3 separate regions of the Homo sapiens genome follow, and regions 1 and 3 are each linked to region 2. The links are contacts of gene promoters, found by promoter capture Hi-C in blood cells and fetal thymus (Javierre and others, 2016). All regions are on one chromosome and are shown on one strand. Each heading gives the region's core, a stretch centred on a gene start or on the middle of the fragment in contact. The rest is flanking DNA. Distances are from core to core; before and after follow the strand shown. Region 1 overlaps MOV10L1 (Mov10 like RNA helicase 1). Region 2 holds the start of TUBGCP6 (tubulin gamma complex component 6). Region 3 overlaps MOV10L1 (Mov10 like RNA helicase 1).

Region 1 (2,946 bases), core at 280-2,779, 120 kb before region 2:
GTCTCACTGTGTTGCCCAGGCTGGAGTGCAATGGCTCAGTCACTGCTCACTGCAGCCTCGAGCTCCTGGGCTCAAGCAATCCTCCCACCTCAGTCTCCCAAGTAACTGGGACTACAGGAATGAGCCACCACACCCAGCTAATCCTTTTCATATGCTGCTGAATTTTGTGTGCTAGTATCGTGTTGAGGATTTTTTCATCAGTGTTCATATTGGTCTGTAGTTTTCTTTTCCTGAAGTGTCTCTGTCTGGCTTTGGGATCAGGGTAATGCTGGCCTCATAAGAATAAGTCAGAGAGTATTCCCTCCTCTTGAATTTTTTGGAAAAGTTTGAGAAAGATTGGTATTAGTTAGTCTTCAAATGTTTGGTAGAATTTAGCTATGGAGCCATCAGGTCCTGGGGTTTTCCTTTTCAGAATATTTATTACTGCTTTAACCTCCTTAGTAGTAATTGGTCTATTCAGATTTTCTTTCTTCATGGTTTAGTCTTGGTAGGTTTTGTGTTTCTAGGAATTTGTCCATTTCATCTGGGTATTGGTATACGATTGCTCATACTCTTATAATCCTTTTTATTTCCGTAGATTCTGTAGTAATGTTCCCACTTTCCTATCTTATTTTAGTAATTTGTCTTTCCCTTTTTTCTAGTTAATCTACTAAAAGTCTGTCAATTTTGTTGATCTTTTTGGAGAACCAACTTTTTGTTTTCCTGGTTTTCTGTATTGTTTTTCAGTTCTCTCTTTTGTTCATCTCTCCTCTAATCTTTATTTCCTTCCTTCTGCTATCTTTGGGTTTAGTTTGTTCTCCTTTGTCTAATTCCTTGCAGTGCTCATGGGAATCAGTGCTCATAGTCACAAATTCCCTCAGCACTGCTTGTGCTGCTCCCATAAGTCTTGCTGTATTGTGTTTTTGTTTTTATTCATCTCCTAAGTATTTTTTAGTTTTTCTTATGGGGTTCTTTTGCTTTAATTCTTATCTTTGCTCTTTTGCACATAACGTTGTTTTTTCTTAGCTGCTTTTAAGATTCTCTCTTTTATCACTGATATTAATAGATTTGGTTTACGATGTGTGGTGGTAGAGATTCTTTTCTTCCTGTTCTTGTGCTTGGGGTTCATTGGGATTCTTGAATATGCGGCCTTGAGTTTTCTTCAGATTTGGAAATTTTCAGCCACCATGTGTTCAGACGCACTTTCTGCCCTCCCACTTTCCAATTCCGGGCAGGCTGCTGTGAGTTTTCCCCCACCTCATGCTGAGGCCCTGGTCTGGCCCCTCAATGGGTTTTGCAGGATGGTGTCTCATGCATTCCTTAGTGCTGAGCTGATGGTCCTGAGTGGGTCCCCTGACCCTCTCCAGACCACTCTGTGCTGCTTGCTCTTCCCAGCGCTCAGCCCCACAGATCAGAGCTCCTCTCCTTAGAAACCATGCAGCATCCCTGGGTCCTCTGTGCTGGGGCCTAGGAGCTCTGTTCAGGCACAGGTGGATCAGTCATGGGGCCCCCATGGATTGTTTCCCCAGTCTTGGGATCACAATCCTTTGCTACGTGATGTTCATTGTTTAAACACCATCGTTTCTTATTTCTCTGTCTCTTTAAGTTTTTTTCAGGTAGAAGGGTAAATCTGGTCCTTGTTAGTCCACCTTGGCCAGACCTGGAAGTTTGTCCTTTTTTCACAGATGTCTGTGGAAGCCAAATTCTGCCTTCCCAGAATTAACGTGGACAACCTGAAAAAGAGCAGGGAGGGTGGACAGGAGTGGGCAGTGCAGGGAGGGACACCGCCAGCTGGAGCCCCACTGCCTCATGCCAAAGGCCAGGGAGTGTGCTGGAGCCCCATGGCCCTCGTGCTGAAGGCCGGGGAACTTACTGAGGCACCTGCAGACTCCGGCGAGGATCGCCCCACCTGGGGGGCCATCTGCTGAACTGGAGCTGTTGGAACTTTCCTGCTCCGGAGCTGCTACTTTCCAGAGTGCTGCTGAGCTGTTGCTGACTTTATAACATTTGGGTGTTTTCCAGCTTCTGAACATGTCAAATTACAAGGAGAAGTTTTCGACTTTGCTGTGGCTTGAGGAGATTTATGCAGAAATGGAACTGAAAGAGTATAACATGAGCGGGATCATCTTAAGAAGGAATGGGGATCTGCTGGTTCTGGAGGTCCCAGGGTTGGCCGAAGGGAGGCCTTCTCTCTACGCAGGTGTGTTTGTTACTCATATGCTTCCCTGGGTGGACTAGCAGAGAAACCATACTTGAGAGAAGATACTCTTTAACTGGCAATATGACAGTCACATTATCGCATTTTCTTTCTTTTGGGTTAGAATTTCACTAAAAATCAGCAACCGATGTACATCAAGCATGTTTCTTTGTTGTATTTCATTAGTTGTAAGCAGTTGACCCCAGTAATGTTTTTGTTTGTTTGTTTGTTTGTTTTTTGAGGTGGAGTCTCGCTGTGTCGCCCAGGCTGGAGTGCAGTGGCGCAATCTCAGCTCATTGCAACCTCTGCCTCCCGGGTTCACGCCGTTCTCCTGCCTTAGCCTCCCGAGTAGCTGGAACTACAGGCGCCCGCCACCACACCCGGCTGATTTTTTTTTTTGTATTTTTAGTAGAGATGAGGTTTCGCCGTGTTAGCCAGGATGGTCTCGATCCCCTGACCTTGTGATCCGCCCGCCTCGGCCTCTCAAAGTGCTGGGATTACAGGCATGAGCCACTGCACCCAGCCTGACCCCAGTAACGTTTTATTGAACCTCCTCAGTGTTGGATTTTATAGGACAGCACAGAAATTTGTGATTTTGTGTTAGCTTTAAACATGGTAATATATTTTTTAACTAGGTGATAAACTGATTTTAAAAACTCAAGAGTACAATGGACATGCCATCGAATACATCAGCTACGTGACTGAGGTGAGAGCACTCTCTCTTAATGAGTTTGTGTTAGACACACCCTTCTGACCGGTTGGAAAGGTAA
Region 2 (2,998 bases), core at 95-2,594:
ACCCCGAGAGAGATGAAAGAGGAAAAACTAAACATTCTACCTTAATAGCCAGCCCAGAGAGGTCCGCATTGTCTGGCACGGGGGGCAGGCCCAGTCGGACGTCCATGTCATAAGTGCGGCTGTGCACAAGGGCCCCGAAGAGCGAGACCCGGGTGTCTCTCTCGAACCTGTCACCACAAGGGTCACCAAATGAGAAGAGCCCGACGGTGGGCAGGCCAGTGCCTGGAGCAGCCTCCATAACCTGAAGTGTTTCCTGGATCATGCTGTGACACAAACACTCTTCTCTGGAGATCAGAGACTGAACGTCCATCTCAAACACACTCAGGTCGTCGCAATCATAGCCGCTGTACGGAACGTTTCTCCCCACATGCTTGTTGTTAAGGAAGTAGTCTCGTTTTCTCGGCAGAACTTGAGGGGGACCACTCCCTGCCAGCTGAACCAGGAGGTCCAAAACAGACCCCACCTCCAAAAGCGGACAGCAAGGGGCTGCTTCCAGCTCCTCCACAAGCTCCTCCAAACGGTCGGCCTTGGGGCCCAGGCCACCCACTCTCAAGTCAAAGGACAACATGAGGATCTTGTTTCTCGCTGGTAGTTTTGACATGTCAGGCTGCAGCTGTTGAGTCTCATCTTGAAAAAGATTTGTGAAAAGAGCATTGTAGGCCACCTTCTTGAGGCTCCGCTTTGCCCTCTTCCGGTTCACACTGCGCTGGCCCAGGTGAGTCTTGGCAGCCGGCAGGAGGGCCTCACACAGGTCGTCGAACAGCTGCGTGATGCTGGCCATGCCCCTTCTCAGCTCCGGGCCCCCGGCGTGTGGGAAAACACCTCACCCGGGCTTCACTCACGCTCCGGAAGACAGGGAGTGAGAGAGGGTCCGAAGAGGCTGAATGACAGGCGGCCTCTCCAATGCCGAAGCTCAGAACTGGTATTTTTTAAAGGAGGTCTTGCGGTTGCTCTACTCAGAGTAAACACGCCCTGCCCTCCCCAGTCCAAGCACGCTGCCCGGCGCCCGGCAGCCCACCAGAAGCCAGCTCGGCGTTTCTTCTAATTCAGTAGCCCTCAACCTTTAGGGAGTCACAGAACCGTGGCAAAACCGAAGAACGAAACGCGCGCCCGCGCAGTACAGCGGACGAACTCGGCTTTGCACCCGTTCTTCGGGACCCACGAGAGGAGACGGCCAGGAGAGGGTGCCACTCCGAGGGTCGTGGGCAGCGGAGAGTCTGGGGGCTCAGCCGGGTGGGTCCCGGGTTCTGGCCTGCACGTCCACCCGTTCTCCAGGCCTCACCCGTGGAAAGTGCCCACGGCTGCCGCTCTCGCCGCCTCCGTCGCGTCACAGCCGCGCCAGTGTGAAGAGCACTAGGGCGGGCGCGCCGGAAATACGTCACGGGAACGCCGGCAGCGCGTGAAGTTGGTGAGGCCTGGGCCGCGGCATACTTCCGGCCTGAGTCCGGCACCGCGGGTGAGAGACCGAGGCCGAGCGTGCTCAGTAAAGGAGGCAGAGCCAGCGTTTCGTTTGAGCGATGTTTACTAACGGCGCAAGGGCGGGGAGCGAAGCGCAGCGGGGCGCAGGGGCCGGAACGGGACCGAGCGTGGGTTGCATGGGCCTCGATGGGACGGGCCGGGGCGCGATGGGTGGGGCGGGGGCGAGGTGAGGTGAGGGGTGGAGCGGGGGAAGCACGGGTGGGAGAGGGCGGGGCGCGGGGATTGGGAGTGGGCGGGGTTCCGTGCCCCAGAGTCGAGGGAGCCGTGGGCTTGGGGTCCGGATCGCGGCCGCGGGGCGCTGGCGTGCGGTGTCATTTCTGCGGTGTAAATGCTCCCACCTTGGCCGATTTCAAGCCACCAGGTGAGGATGGCACTACAGGAGGAGCCGAGAAGAGGCGCGCAGTTGGCCTCCGGCGCTGGAGCTGGTTCAGGGCACTCCCCTGCCCTGCCCTCCCCACCGATCTGTGCGGCAGAGCCAGGCCCCAGGGCAGGGCCATGCCTCCGCAGTCAGCCTCACCTGCAACATCTTCCACTGAGGCTCCAGCTGCCCTCTCAGGTACATCAGGGCCTGGACGTCCTCTGGGGAGGCCACAGAGGAAGGGCCTAGGCTAGGAGGTGCCTCTCCATTCAGCACCCGGGCCAGGATCCCTGCTAGCTGGGGTGTGGAGTTCTGGACCAGGGGCGAAGACGGAAGCAGTCACTGGTCCTTTCCCTCGTCCCACCCCGCAGCACCTCCACCCTGCCCAGCTTACCTCCTCCAGGAGGGCCAGGACTCGGCCCCCTGCCAGCCCCCGAAGCATTGCAGCCAGGAGTGCAGCGTGGGGGCCCTGCAGGCCATGGCCAGGCCCCAGCGCCACCAGCACCAGGTCAGGCTGGAAGCCATAGGCCAGGGGCAGCACCAAGCCCAAGATGCAGCTCAGGAAACCACCGGTCATCTGTGGGGACAGCAGAGCCCAGCTCCTCATCTACGGACACCTGCTGGCTCTGGCCTCCCAACCTCCCAATCTCAGGGCCCCTGGAGTAGGAGCAGGGAGACAGGAAGGACCAGAGGCCTGCTATCATGACAATGCCAGCAAACAGCAGCTGTACACATCCATGGGCTCCCCAGCACCTGCCTTGCCGCGTGGCATGGTCACTCACCACTGGCAGTGGCGTGGAGACATGGAACATGGATAGGGCAGCCGCCTCCTTGCCCCTGATGTTCAGCCACAGACTCCTCCTTCCAGGACACAGGTGCATAAGTGTAAGGCCCTGCTCACCCTCCTGAGCCCAAACCGCAGAGGCAGAGGTGGAAGAGCATTCACGGGGCCATGGGCAGGGGTGCTGTGACTGCTGAGCCTCTGTGCTGGAGACCCACCTGGCATTGCCTCCAGCAGCCCTTCTCCCACACCCCAGCTGAGGAAGGCTCCATTCAGTACCACACAGTGCCCCACCCACCCGTCACCCTGGGGCCCAGGCACACGTCCATCACATGCCCGTCCACATGCATGGCTGGACATATGCAAGACCTGAGAGTCCT
Region 3 (2,723 bases), core at 126-2,625, 93 kb before region 2:
AGTCGAGCAGCTCACTCTTCTGTCCACCTGAGTCATCTCCATCCGTGGGCAGAGTGCAGGGGAGCACCCACCATAGCACCTCCCCCGTCAGCAGAAACTGCAGCCTGGTGCTGATGGCTGAGACTCTGGGGTCAGATTCAGTAAAATAAGTTAAAATCTGTGTTACTCTGTTAACGTTAAGAAAAGCAAGAAATAATTTTTGTGACTTAAAAAGCCTGCCCTAGAGTGACTGCAGGCAGTGTCTCCTCAGTGGTCTCTGACCCCAAGGTCCCACTGAAGTGCAGGTCTGGGCTCTCAGCCAACCTTGCACCAAATTCTGAGGGATGGGCTTTGGGATTTGCATCTTTGGAGCCCCCAGCACACTGAGCTTGGGCCTCCAGGGCCCATCATTCAACAGTGAACCAAGTAGCCTCAGTTTGTAAGCCCCTGTAGCCCACAGAAAAACAGTCTCCATCTGATTCCCATTGCCAGTATTAACATCAATAGAAAATGAGGGGCAGTTACCATGGGCAGACTTTCAGGGAAAAGGACTGGACCCCATTCTTGGTTGTCAAGGGTAGGGAGCAGGTGGGGGTCTTCAGGCCAAGGAAGGCCTCATGAGGGACTACCCGCAAGACAGGACCGGCTGTGCCAGGAGGCCATGAAACTGCCCCCAGGAAGATGGCCGGCCGTGAGCAGCTGCTGGGCCCAGAGGGCGCCTGAGAGCTCTGCTGTCCCCCGGAGGTTCGCCTCATCCTCCAGTGCCGCTGTGCGCCTGTACCCGCTAGCTGCTTTGCTGGAGGTGTGGGTGCAGGTGACGTGGCCGCAGCAGGAGAGACCAGCACGCTGCCGTCCCCACCACACAGCCTTCAGGGCAGGTGCATACAGCACAGGGCCACAGGTACAGAAAGACCCTGCCGCACGGGAGGTGAAGGCCTTGTCCTGTGTGGGGCCTGGGCAGTGTCCTGCACCCTCCAACCAGAGCGGCTGCCACAGTGACCCCAGGAGGCTGCATGCTTCCTTTCTCTTCCCCAGCAGCTGCCCATGTCCAGCTAAGGCAGAGGTGCCGTGACTCTAGATCACATTTGGAGTTTGGAGTAGCACGTTGGAGGCTGGACACATTCTATTTAGGCTTGACAGAGTCGGGAGGACTCACGGGGCCAATCATGGCGTTCTCGTGCCAGTGTCATCTGGCGAGTAACAGACAGCACTGCAGGAACACAGGTTTTCACCAACAGGGGCTTTGTTAACTCATCCCAAGGAGGGAGAGCCCTAGGCTTGTTCTCCCCAGCAGTGTCTCCCCGAGGGACAGTCAGTGACAGGAGGGCAGAGGGTGCAGCATTGCATAGAGAGGACGGCTCCCCGCGGCACAGACGCAGCGAGTCCTCATGCCAATACATGGGTCACGTGATGAGCAGGGTCAAGACTGAGCATTGCTCTGACTGGTTGAACTCCTGTAGTCGCTGGAGACCCTCTCTGGCTGCTTACACCAGCACCAGGGGAAGAGCACCTGCCCTGAGTGAGCTTCCCGAGCAAGTTGGAGGCAGACAGTAAAGGTGTCCCATGTACTGGTGATATCACAGTCACCCTCAGCCGCATCAGTGAAGTCACAGCCAGGCCCGCCCAGGGCTGGCCAGGCCCCCAGAGTCACAGTGTCTATGCTCTCCTGGCCCAGGGGCCCAGGAGCTCTTCCTTCCCTGTGGCCAAGCGGAGGCAGGGCTGTGTGGGCCAACAAGATGCTGTTTCCAGGGTGAAGCTCTCAGCACACGAGGGAGGCATCCACCTGCCCTCCACCCGGCTGCTGGGTTCCAGGTGGCAGGAGCCCTTTAAGAGGCCCCTCAGCGGCACCCAGACCCAGGAGAGGAACAGAGGGCAGCCGTCACACCCTTTTCTTCCTGATGTTTCCATTTTCTATTCAGATGGACCCTTGGCTTGACCATCATCCAAGGGCTTGGTCTGGGGGCAGGCGACACACAGGGGCGCAGGAGCAGAGTCAGGCTTGGAAGTCAGGCAGGCCTCACGTTTGCTGTGCAGAGCCGCTTTTCGTTCGACAGAAACTGTGCCGGGTACCACCTTCCCCTTGTGACCCATCACCATCTCCTCGCAGGTCACAAAGCTGGTGAAGAACTACCGGTCCCACGAGGCCCTGCTGATGCTGCCCTCACGGCTGTTCTACCACAGGGAACTCGAGGTCTGTGCGGACCCCACAGTGGTGACCTCCTTGCTGGGCTGGGAGAAGTTGCCTAAGAAAGGCTTCCCTCTCATCTTCCATGGTGTGCGGGTGAGTTGTGTCTTGAATCCGTAGGTGACCGTGTCGGGTAAGGACAGTATGGCAGGAGGTCCTTCCTCCCAGGTGAGGCTCTGTCACCTGCCTGTGGCGGGGCAGATGTTCTGCTGGTCTCCAGAGAGTGAAAAGCCATCGGGGGCTTGTGCCCCCCAAGATGGATGCTGACTTCTCCTGCCAGATGAGTTGTGCCTGGCACCAAGGAGGCATCACAGGCACCACTCTCAGGTGGTCACAGCAGACAAGCACTGGGCTCCAAGAGAAGCGAAGCTGCCCAGTGAGCTCTGGAGGGCCTGGGGAAGCTCGCAGGGCCATGTGGCTGGGGACGCCCCAGGGCCGCAGGAAGCTCCCAGAGGCCACCACCGCCTCCCTCCCGGTGCTTCCCTCGAGGGTTGGAGCTGTCAGGAGAGAGCCCGGCAGGGAAGGCAGCAGCTGCGATCCCGAGCCGTGCGCCTGGGGC

The links. The method cuts DNA at HindIII sites, captures the fragments that hold promoters and counts their contacts. A CHiCAGO score of 5 or more calls a contact.
Region 1: a contact is called between a fragment that was not itself captured here and the fragment with the promoter of TUBGCP6 in region 2, in 1 of 17 cell types (neutrophils). The highest score is 8.5, in neutrophils.
Region 3: a contact is called between a fragment that was not itself captured here and the fragment with the promoter of TUBGCP6 in region 2, in 8 of 17 cell types (monocytes, M0 macrophages, neutrophils and 5 more). The highest score is 8.7, in monocytes.

What each region holds. Positions count from the first base shown.
Region 1 is chr22:50,123,391-50,126,336 of GRCh38, forward strand. MOV10L1 (Mov10 like RNA helicase 1) reads left to right here. Exons shown (of 27, transcript NM_018995.3): 11 at 2,002-2,179; 12 at 2,812-2,882. Among named protein-coding and RNA genes, the nearest start is that of MOV10L1, 35 kb to the left of the region's middle. The HindIII fragment of the contact is 4,552 bases long and covers 1-2,946 here.
Region 2 is chr22:50,243,679-50,246,676 of GRCh38, forward strand. It overlaps TUBGCP6 (tubulin gamma complex component 6), which reads right to left and starts at 1,345. Exons shown (of 25, transcript NM_020461.4): 1 at 41-1,345. The coding sequence starts at 781. It overlaps HDAC10 (histone deacetylase 10), which reads right to left. Exons shown (of 20, transcript NM_032019.6): 17 at 2,620-2,698; 18 at 2,232-2,414; 19 at 1,997-2,149; 20 at 1,505-1,852. The coding sequence ends at 1,829. RefSeq lists enhancers at 1-864, 438-717, 1,128-1,177 and a silencer at 1,648-1,717. The HindIII fragment of the contact is 66,555 bases long and covers 1-2,998 here.
Region 3 is chr22:50,150,959-50,153,681 of GRCh38, forward strand. It overlaps MOV10L1 (Mov10 like RNA helicase 1), which reads left to right. Exons shown (of 27, transcript NM_018995.3): 22 at 2,087-2,260. Among named protein-coding and RNA genes, the nearest start is that of PANX2, 18 kb to the right of the region's middle. The HindIII fragment of the contact is 3,821 bases long and covers 1-2,723 here.